Linked DNA regions of Homo sapiens: region 2 is linked to region 1. The links are contacts of gene promoters, found by promoter capture Hi-C in human tissues and cell types (Jung and others, 2019). All regions are on one chromosome and are shown on one strand. Each heading gives the region's core, a stretch centred on a gene start or on the middle of the fragment in contact. The rest is flanking DNA. Distances are from core to core; before and after follow the strand shown.

Evidence for each region. The method cuts DNA at HindIII sites, captures the fragments that hold promoters and counts their contacts. A contact is called where the count stands out against the background at its distance.
Region 2: a fragment that was not itself captured here is called in contact with the fragment with the promoter of SAMD9L in region 1 in 1 of the 25 tissues and cell types used here (lymphoblastoid cells).

What each region holds. Positions count from the first base shown.
Region 1 is chr7:93,146,546-93,151,194 of GRCh38, reverse strand. SAMD9L (sterile alpha motif domain containing 9 like) reads left to right here and starts at 2,810. Exons shown (of 5, transcript NM_152703.5): 1 at 2,810-3,001; 2 at 4,049-4,312. RefSeq lists an enhancer at 3,511-3,610. The HindIII fragment of the contact is 15,444 bases long and covers 1-4,649 here.
Region 2 is chr7:92,511,430-92,516,016 of GRCh38, reverse strand. It overlaps PEX1 (peroxisomal biogenesis factor 1), which reads left to right. Exons shown (of 24, transcript NM_000466.3): 6 at 2,050-2,169; 7 at 4,314-4,437. Among named protein-coding and RNA genes, the nearest start is that of PEX1, 15 kb to the left of the region's middle. The HindIII fragment of the contact is 6,462 bases long and covers 1-4,483 here.

The DNA of each region.
Region 1 (4,649 bases), core at 1,561-4,060:
GTTAGTATATTTCCTAATTGCCTCAACTAAATGCCCTTGAAACAAAGCTGGATTCTCATCTTTGTCCTGAGAAACTTCCTTAATTTTTCATAGTTAACAGGCTTTTTCATACATTTCTTCATCCCTTCCAACAAACAAGTGACCATATGATCGCTCCTCCCCAAGTTGTCACTGCCCCTTTGATAGTTCCACTCTGGATCTTGATCTGGAACTGCTCTACCTCCTGCCTGATATGTATTATGGTTTGGGTTGTTAGCCAATGCCTCATCTGCATGAGCCCTAGCTGTCCCCAAAATGCATTGTTTCTCTTCCACTGTACAACACAGAGACAACAAAACATGGAGATCCTGCCAAGTTAACTATAGGTCAGAATTAATTTCTCAAATTAATCTATGAATCTTCCTGGGTCTTCAGAGAAATCACCAAACTTCTCTTTACATAGAGTCAAATCAGACAAAAAAAAAAAAAGGGAACATGTACTCTCACAGTGCCTTCTTCCCCATTTGCCACCTCTCTAAGTGGACAAAGGTTTCCCTTTGGAGGTTGATAGGAGGCTCCACTAGGGGTAGTACTCACCAGGCTAAGTTCCTCAGGGAGTGGTGGGTATAGAGTGGGGCTAGATGGGTAAGGAGGATGGGACAAAGGGTTCTCCAAGGGGATAGAGGGAGAAAGGACAGACACATCTGAACCTTCAGAGCTGACAGAAGGAGGTTCTGCTCCACCCAAAACTGCCTGCTGAACCAAGGTTGCTTGCATTAAAGGATCATCTAGTATGTCTAGCTTTTTTTCCTCTTTTCCTCTCATCAAACATGATTCACATTATCCAAATAACATAAGTGAGCTGAGTCATGAATCTTAGATAAACCACAACATGGACTTTGACAAAAATGTTGAATAAGGCAAGGGAAATGAAGAGGATTTAGATGGGAATGACCAGAGCAAGCAGGTTCTGGGCAATAGAGACAGTGTGGATTGAACAAGCAAAGCCGGTTTGCCTGAATGCAAGAAAGGAAAGAAGTGTTTTTAGTGTGCAAAGTGAAACAAAACATCAGAGTCCCCTGATTTCCATCCTAGTGCTTCTCGATCACACCTAGTCGGCATAGCAGCAACAAAACATAATCTAATTTTATTGCTCATAGCTGTTGAATACCAAATCTCAATCAGCAATTTTAAAGACGGAGCCGTCAATGCTTTTTGTTCCCAATGTTTCAAGAGCAGACACATGGAAATCAGGAGGCACATAGGAAAAGAGTAAGTTAAAATCCCTAAGACCATTTAGATAAAGTCTCCCGAAAATGACAGTGAAACACAGACAGCAACCAAGAAATTGATTTATGCAGCAAGGAGGACAAGGCAGATTAATACAAAGTGCATAGCCTGCAGTGCCAAACCCTTTTTTAGCAGAGAGGGACTTTACTGAGAGGGCCCTCTAACCCCCTAAATCTTAGAAGGAACTCTAAACCTTTTAAGTTGGTCCTCTAATCCGAGGTCAGTCAAGCATCTTTGCCTTTTATTAACAGGGGTCTCTAATTCACCCTGTCTTCGGAGAGACTCTAATTCCCCTAAGTTGGGCCTCTAACCCAATCCCATTCTTTACCCGGGTACCCCACCACTTACCCAAAGTCATCCAATCAGTGCTATAGTCCATTTCCTTTGGGTTGGTGGGGAGGTTCTTCAGTATCGGTCCCTCATGGTTGCCAGAAATGTTACAGGACCAGGGTTCCAATCCAGACCCCTAGAGAGGGTTCTTGGAGCTCATGCAAGAAAGAATTCAGGGCGAGTCCACAGTGCAAAGTAAAAGCAAGTTTATTAAGAAAGTACAGTGGTAAAAGGACAGCTACTCCACAGACAGAGTAGGACGTTCCCGAAAGTAAGAGGAGGAACACATCCACCCTAGGTACAATGCTTGTATATATGGAGAGATGTGTTTTGCTACAAGGGTTTCTGATAAAGAATTAATTTTCTTAATTAGTGTATTTTGCAAGAATCAATATTATTTTCTTTAAAGCAAAATTAAGAATGCCTCTGTTCTCCAGATATTGGGATATCTGGACACTCCCAAGTCACGGTCTGCTTAGTAAATATTATTAATTTGCTCCCTTAATCATAAACATCTAGAGGCTAGGAATGCCTACCTTTCTGAGAAGGCAGCCCAGCAAGTCTCAGCCTCATTTTCGTAGCCCTCATTCAAAATGGAGTCACTCTGGTTCGAATGTCTCTGACATTATCAGGGTTGGTTTCTTCTGATGTCTCTCTCCTTGGCTTGTAGATGGCCATCTTTTCTTTGTGTCTTCACATGGTCTTCCCTCTGTATGTGTCTGTGTCCCAATCTCGTCTTCTTACAAGGACACAGTCAGATTCAATTACAGACACTCTAATGACCTCATTTTAACTTAATTATCTCCTGAAAGACCTTATCTCCAAATACAGTTACATTTGGAGGGAGTGAGGATTAGGACTTTAACATATGAATGTTTGGGGGACACAATTCAACCAGTAACAGGAACTTAGATTGCACTGACATATTAATTTTCTCCCTGGTATTTCCATTCTCTTTGTCCTGTAGGTAGTTTTTTGGGTCACTGGGTTTTTTTGTTTGTTTGTTTGTTGTTTCCTTATTCCTTAACTCTTATAACTTAAAAATCTGCCTGGTAAACAGTTTCTAAGCAGTGATTCAAATTTATTGATATTTTTGGTAATGTTATTGATTAAAAAACATTTCAGATCCTTCTAAACTCAAGAAAAAAGAATGTTCTAAAGCAAAACTGAAACTGTCTATACTTCAACTTCCTCCTGCTTCTCAACTGGCACTCTGACACACCCTCAGAAAGTCAGAGTACTGGGAGAACAGAAGACTTCACAATTTAATGCCTCAGTTTTTAAAAAAGGATCCTTACACTTCATGTCTCCTAGCCATCAGAAGAGGAATGAGACAGCAAAAGTTCAAATGGCCTGTTTCAAGTTTCTGATATAAAACGATGACATTTTCAGGAAAATCCTGGTAAGTAAACTGAATCATTAAACCTTTATTTGTTATGCTTTTGAGGCGACAGCTATTTTTTAAAACTTCAGCTGTACTTTTTATATAAATATATGTTTGTACATAAACGATTACTTATAAAAATACTAGAGTAATTAGAAAAATCAATGGATTAAATACATGTCAGTATATTTAACTGATAATAACTTTGTAAGTGCTCTTCTAAAAAGAAACATACCATTAAGTGTAATTAGGATAGTGGGAGGGTTTCTGATTGTGGCAGGCAGGCTTTGGAAAAGAGGATAGAGAAACGATGCAAACAGGGTCAGGAATTTAAGCACTGAAGATTCTAAAGGAACGTGTGATCTTGTGTAATTACACAAAATTCTGTCTTCATAACGTAAGATGTTATTAAAACTTTTACATTTTATCAAAGTTAATACTCTGCAGAGGCTAAATATTATTCTATTAAAGTATTTCATTCACATACATCTTATCCAGCAATCTGGTTGAAAACTAAGAAAAAAAATGCAAAGTGTTCTTCAGGAAAACGAAACTAACTTGCTTGTGTGGCTTCTGTCTGCCAGACTATGCAAGGAGGGTGTGGGTAGCTCTCCTGGGCTACAGCCAGATTCTGAAGTGTGTTTCCCCTACATCAGTTCTAAGAATCCTGCAGAGCAGAACACCTCCCTAGGGCATGGATATCAGCGGTGTTGCTGAGGGTCTCTCAAAGATGGGGTGGGCTTGTCCCTGAGAGTTTGCTGACTTGGAAATTCTTGCTGAGCATCAAAGAGAGAAAACTGAAGTGTTGAGGATGCCAACCTGCAACTCCTTTGTCAATAACCAACGTTGCTAAAGATAATATTTGTCTTCACAATTGTTTCAAAACAGGACACTGAGGGCCCCTAGAAAGCCAAGACTTAAGTCAAGGCAATCACAAAATTTGTCCACACTAATCATGGTCATTTTGATTGTTACTTAGTTCCAACAGCATACATCCAGATGCTCTTAAAATTGTACTGGCTAAAACGAAAGAAAAAATCTGGAGTCTGTTTTTTCCATCTTTAGCATTTCCAGAGAGAGACTGGCTGGTTAAATTTCTGAAAGAGGACACCAGCTAAAAGAAGGTATTGCATCTCACCCGAGCAGACTGTGTCTGTGGAAAGTGTAAGCCCCTTGCCAGAAGAGCAGCTTCCCAGCAAAGGCAGAGGGTGAAAACAGCAAAGGTCTTAAGACACTGGGGACCTAGAGTCAAAAGGGACCTCCTCCAGGGAAAACGCTGTGTGAGAAATGGCCTCATTCGGTGACTGTGAGTGACACAGCAGAAAGTTGGTAAGGTGTAGTCTGTAACTAGGGTATCTACAAAAACTGCAGGAGAAAATATATTCATTTGTTTTGCTTTCCTTTTGAAAAAAAAACTTCCTTTTCATTATTTGTGACCAGATGATAGAAGCTGGAGTTCATTCTGGCCTAACGGGTAGCACAGTAAAGAGATTTCCCCAGATTTCTACCTGGAGTTCCAGCCAAGCGAAATAATTTCCCTAGGAAAATGAGGAAGTCCTTTGACCCACAGACACTGGTAGCTCAAGGCCTTTCAAATATTCATTACTTTTAACTACTCTAAGAAAATGTGTTACTCATTTAACAGATTTTTGTTAAGAAGCTATTA
Region 2 (4,587 bases), core at 3-2,502, 630 kb after region 1:
CTTCTCTTTTCTTTTCTTTTTTTGAGTTAGAAGCTTGCTTTGTTGCCCAGGCTGGAGTGCAGTGGCACCACCTCCACTCACTACAACCTCCACCTCCCAGGTTCAAATGATTCTCCTGCCTCAGCCTTCAGAGTAGCTGGGACTACAAGTGTGCGCCACCACTCCTGGCTAATTTTTGTATTTTTAGTAGGGACGAGGTTTCACCATGTTGGCCAGGCTAGTCTTGAACTCCTGGTCTCAAGTGATCCGCCTGCCTCAGTCTCCCAAGGTGCTGGGATTACAGGCGTGAGCCACTGTGCCTGGCCTCAGATCATTATTTTCTGTTAGCTTTAAACTGTCCGTTCAGGAGATCCCACTGCATCCTCAAATTCAAAATATCTAACACTGAGCTTATGATTTAGCTGGTTCTGTCATTAGATGGGAATATCCTTTTATTTCCTTGAAATTATATGGTGAGAACAGGGAGAAGTGCTGATGGTAAAGTCCTGTGATTAAGATAGCAATAAGGACTCCGCCCTTCCCACTCCACTGAAGGTTGAAGAGCCATGGACAATGAGAAGTCACAGTAGGTGAAATCAGGTACTAAAATGGACTTGGCTTGAGAGATCAAAATTGATCACTTGGTGATACAACTAACAAATTCATGTTAACTTGAACCTTTATTACCCTGTGAAGCATGGTGATTAAAAAAAAACAACAAACAAACAGGAAACTTGATTGTTAAATTCTCTTTAAGTCAGAATATGTACCTTAGAGTTTTTATTTATGCTTTTGTCTACCATTAATATGTCTGCACCTGCTCTTTAGAAGTTAATAGAGAGTAAAGTCGTCTTTATGTCTTTCAGTGCTTACTTATATTTGGGAAGTTGAGAAAAATTTTTAACATCATTATTGATATATATATATATATATATATATATATATATATATATATATATATATATATATAGATAATTTTTTTTTTTTTCTTGAGACGGAGTCTCACTCTGTCGCCCAGGCCGGAGTGTGGTGGCGATCTCCACTCAATGCAAGCTCTGCCTCCCAGGTTCAAGCGATTCTCTTGCCTCAGCCTCCCGAGTAGCTAGGATACAGGCTCCCACCACCACGCCTGGCTAATTTTTGTAGTTTTAGTAGAGACGAGGTTTCACCATATTGGCCACGCTGGTCTCAAACTCCTGACCTTGTGATCCGCCCACCTCGGCCTCCCAAAGTGCTGGGATTACAGGCGTGAGCCACTGCGCCCGGCTGAGGTAAAATTTAAAGTGTACAATTCAGTCATTTTTAGTATATTTATACTAGTTGTACAGCCATCACCACAATCTAAGTTTAGAACATTTTCATTAGGGGGTGGGAGAAATTTTACTCTGCTTTTTAGATTAAGTTTCTGTCTGGATCTAATCATTTAATCAGACAATCAGGCAGATTGTCTGTGATTAGTTTTGGCCATTCCAGCTTCTTCATTGGTTGTTAACTTTCACAAATAAAGGCTGCTCAAAGATTAGAAATAACATTTAATTTGAATGTAAATGTGCCATAGTTTAAAAGATGGGTTTGGTGAATACAGTCAAATACATACATTTAAAGCTCTAATTCTGAAGATTATGTAAAGAAAAGGAAAGAAATGTAGGGAGAGGATTGAAATGTTCATGGTATAACAATATCTGAACATCCATCTGGTCACACCGTTGGTATTTGAATGTTTTGTCCTCCTCAAATTCATATGTCGAAATCCCAACTCCCAAGGTGATCGTATTAGGAGGTGTGGTCTTTGGGAAGTGATTAGGTCATGAAGGTGAAGCCTTCATGAATGGGATTCGTGCTCTTATAAAAGAGAACTGTGAGAAATAAGTTTCTGTCGTTTGTTAGCCACCCAGTTTAGGATATTTTGATATAGCAGCCTGCATGGACTGAGACAACTATGAGTTATTATGATAGCTTCTGTTATTTCACCTAAATTCATAGAAGCTAATATATCAATATTTATGCTATGAAATATTTCTTAACCAAGCTTTGAATATATTTATATTTTTGTTTATTTTTAAATTTCAGATTCCAGATGACCTGAGGAAGAGACTAAATATAGAAATGCATGCCGTAGTCAGGATAACTCCAGTGGAAGTTACCCCTAAAATTCCAAGATCTCTAAAGTTACAACCTAGAGAGAATTTAGTGAGTTCAAATATATATGTTACATCAAAATTCTTTTACACGTTTTGTAAGATTTCTAGTTGCTTTAGCTAAGTAATAAGAATGTTGTATTCCTTTTTGATACAAATCTTTTTTTATTGTGTTAAACTATATATAACATAAAATATGCCATGTTCGCCATTTTTAAGTGTATAATTCAAAGGCATTAATTACATTCATAATATTGTACAACCATCACCACTATCTATATCCAGAACTTTTCCATCACCCCAAAGAGAAACTTGGTACCCATTAAACAATAATTCCCCGTCCACTCCTTTCCCCAGTCCCTGGTAATCTCTAATGTATATTGTGTCTCTATGAATTTACTTATTCTAGATATTTCATATATAAGTAGAAGTATGCATTTGTCTTATGTATCTGACTTATTTCATTTAACATAATGTTTTCAAGGCTCATCTGTGTTGTATGTATCAGAATGTTATTCCTTTTCATGGCTGAATACTATTCCATTGACTGCATATACCACATTTGTTTATCCATTCATCTGTTGATGGACACTTGGGTTGTTTCCACATTTTTGGCTGCTGTGAATAATGCTACAGTGAACATTGGTGTACAAGTATCTGTTTGAGTTCCTCTTTTCAGCTCCTTTGGGATATACCTAGGAATTATGTTTAACTTTTTGAGAAGCTGAGAAATCTTTAATAAATGATAACACAAATACTTATATTTGCCAATGCAAATATGAATATTTTTGGCTTTTAAGAGATTGATCATTTTGCCACGTGGTTGTAATTAAAAAAAATTGTCCCATGTTGTTTCAGTATTAATATTGTAGCCTAAAAGAGTGCTAGACTGTTTTACTTTTTACTCAGTTAATTCTTTGGATACTGGTAGAGTCAGGAAATGAGATATTGAACTTAAAGATCTTTGCAGGTGGGGTCCAGTGGCTCACACCTGTAATCCTAGCACTTTGGGAAGCTGAGGTGGGAGGATTGCTTGAGGCCAAGAGTTTGAGAATAGCCTGGGCAACATAGCAAGACCCCATCTCTACAAAAAAATTAAAAAAAAAATTAAGCCAGGCGTGGTAGCTCACGCCTGTTATCCCAACACTTCGGGAGGCTGAGATGGGTGGATCACTTGAGGTCAGGAGTTGGAGACCAGCCTGGCCAACATGGTGAAACCCCATCTCTACTAAAAATACCAAAATTATCGGGGCGTGGTGCTAATCCTGTAATCTCAGCTACTCAGGAGGCTGAGGCAGGAGAACCACTTGAACTGAGGAGGTGGAAGTTGCAGTGAGCCTAGATCTCACCACTGCACTCCAGCCTGGGTAACAGAGCGAGACTCTATTTCAAAAAAAGTAAAAATAAAAATTAGACACATGTGGTGGCACATGCCTGTAGTCCTAGCTACTCAGGAGGCTGACTGAAGTGGGAGGATCTCTTGAGCCCAGGAGTTCCACACTGCAGTGAGCTATGATTGTGCCACTGCACTCCAGCCTAGGCAATATCTCAAAAAAAATTTTTTTAAATAGATTATTAGGCCAGACGTGGTGGCTCATGCCAGTAATCCCAGCACTTTGGAAGGCCAAGGCAGGCGGATCACCTGAGGCCAGGAGTTTGAGACCAGCCTGGCCAACATGGTGAAACCCCATGTCTACCAAAAATACAAAAATTAGCTGCAATGTCTATAATCCCAGCTACTTGGGAGCCTGAGGCAAGCGAATCGCTTGAACCCGGGAGGCAGAGGTTGCAGTGAGTGGAGACTGCGCCACTGCACTCCAGCCTGGGCGATACAGCGAGATTCTGTCTCAAAGAAAAAGGAATTTGTTTTCCTGTCTTTATCGTAGAGGGAGGAAAGGGAGAATGGGGTTGGAATGGTTATTGAGTGAGCCACATTATGGTAGATGTATCACTGGGCATAGAGAAAAGGAGCATTTAAAACTTTTCCGCCTAACAGATGTTTCTTCAGGCTACACTGCACTCATTGTGCTAACTGTAATGTCAAATCCCAGACCTGTGCCTATAGAACATGAACATCCTTCATTGGATTTGTTTGGTCAGGCTTACACTTTATTAGGAAGATCAGATGTTAAAATAAGGGTGTTAAAGTTAAGTTCAGATATGAGGATAATTCATTACTATTCCTTTTTCTGGCAGCCTAAAGACATAAGTGAAGAAGACATAAAAACTGTATTTTATTCATGGCTACAGCAGTCTACTACCACCATGCTTCCTTTGGTAATATCAGAGGAAGAATTTATTAAGCTGGAAACTAAAGATGGTGAGTACATTTGTTATTTTGACTTTTTTTTCTATTTAAATAGTTGTACATTTTTAATTGTTCTTGCAACCTGTCATACCTGTGAACAGTATGTGAATAGTGAAATATAATTATGATAATTAAACAGTAGTTTTTATGTATTGAAAAATA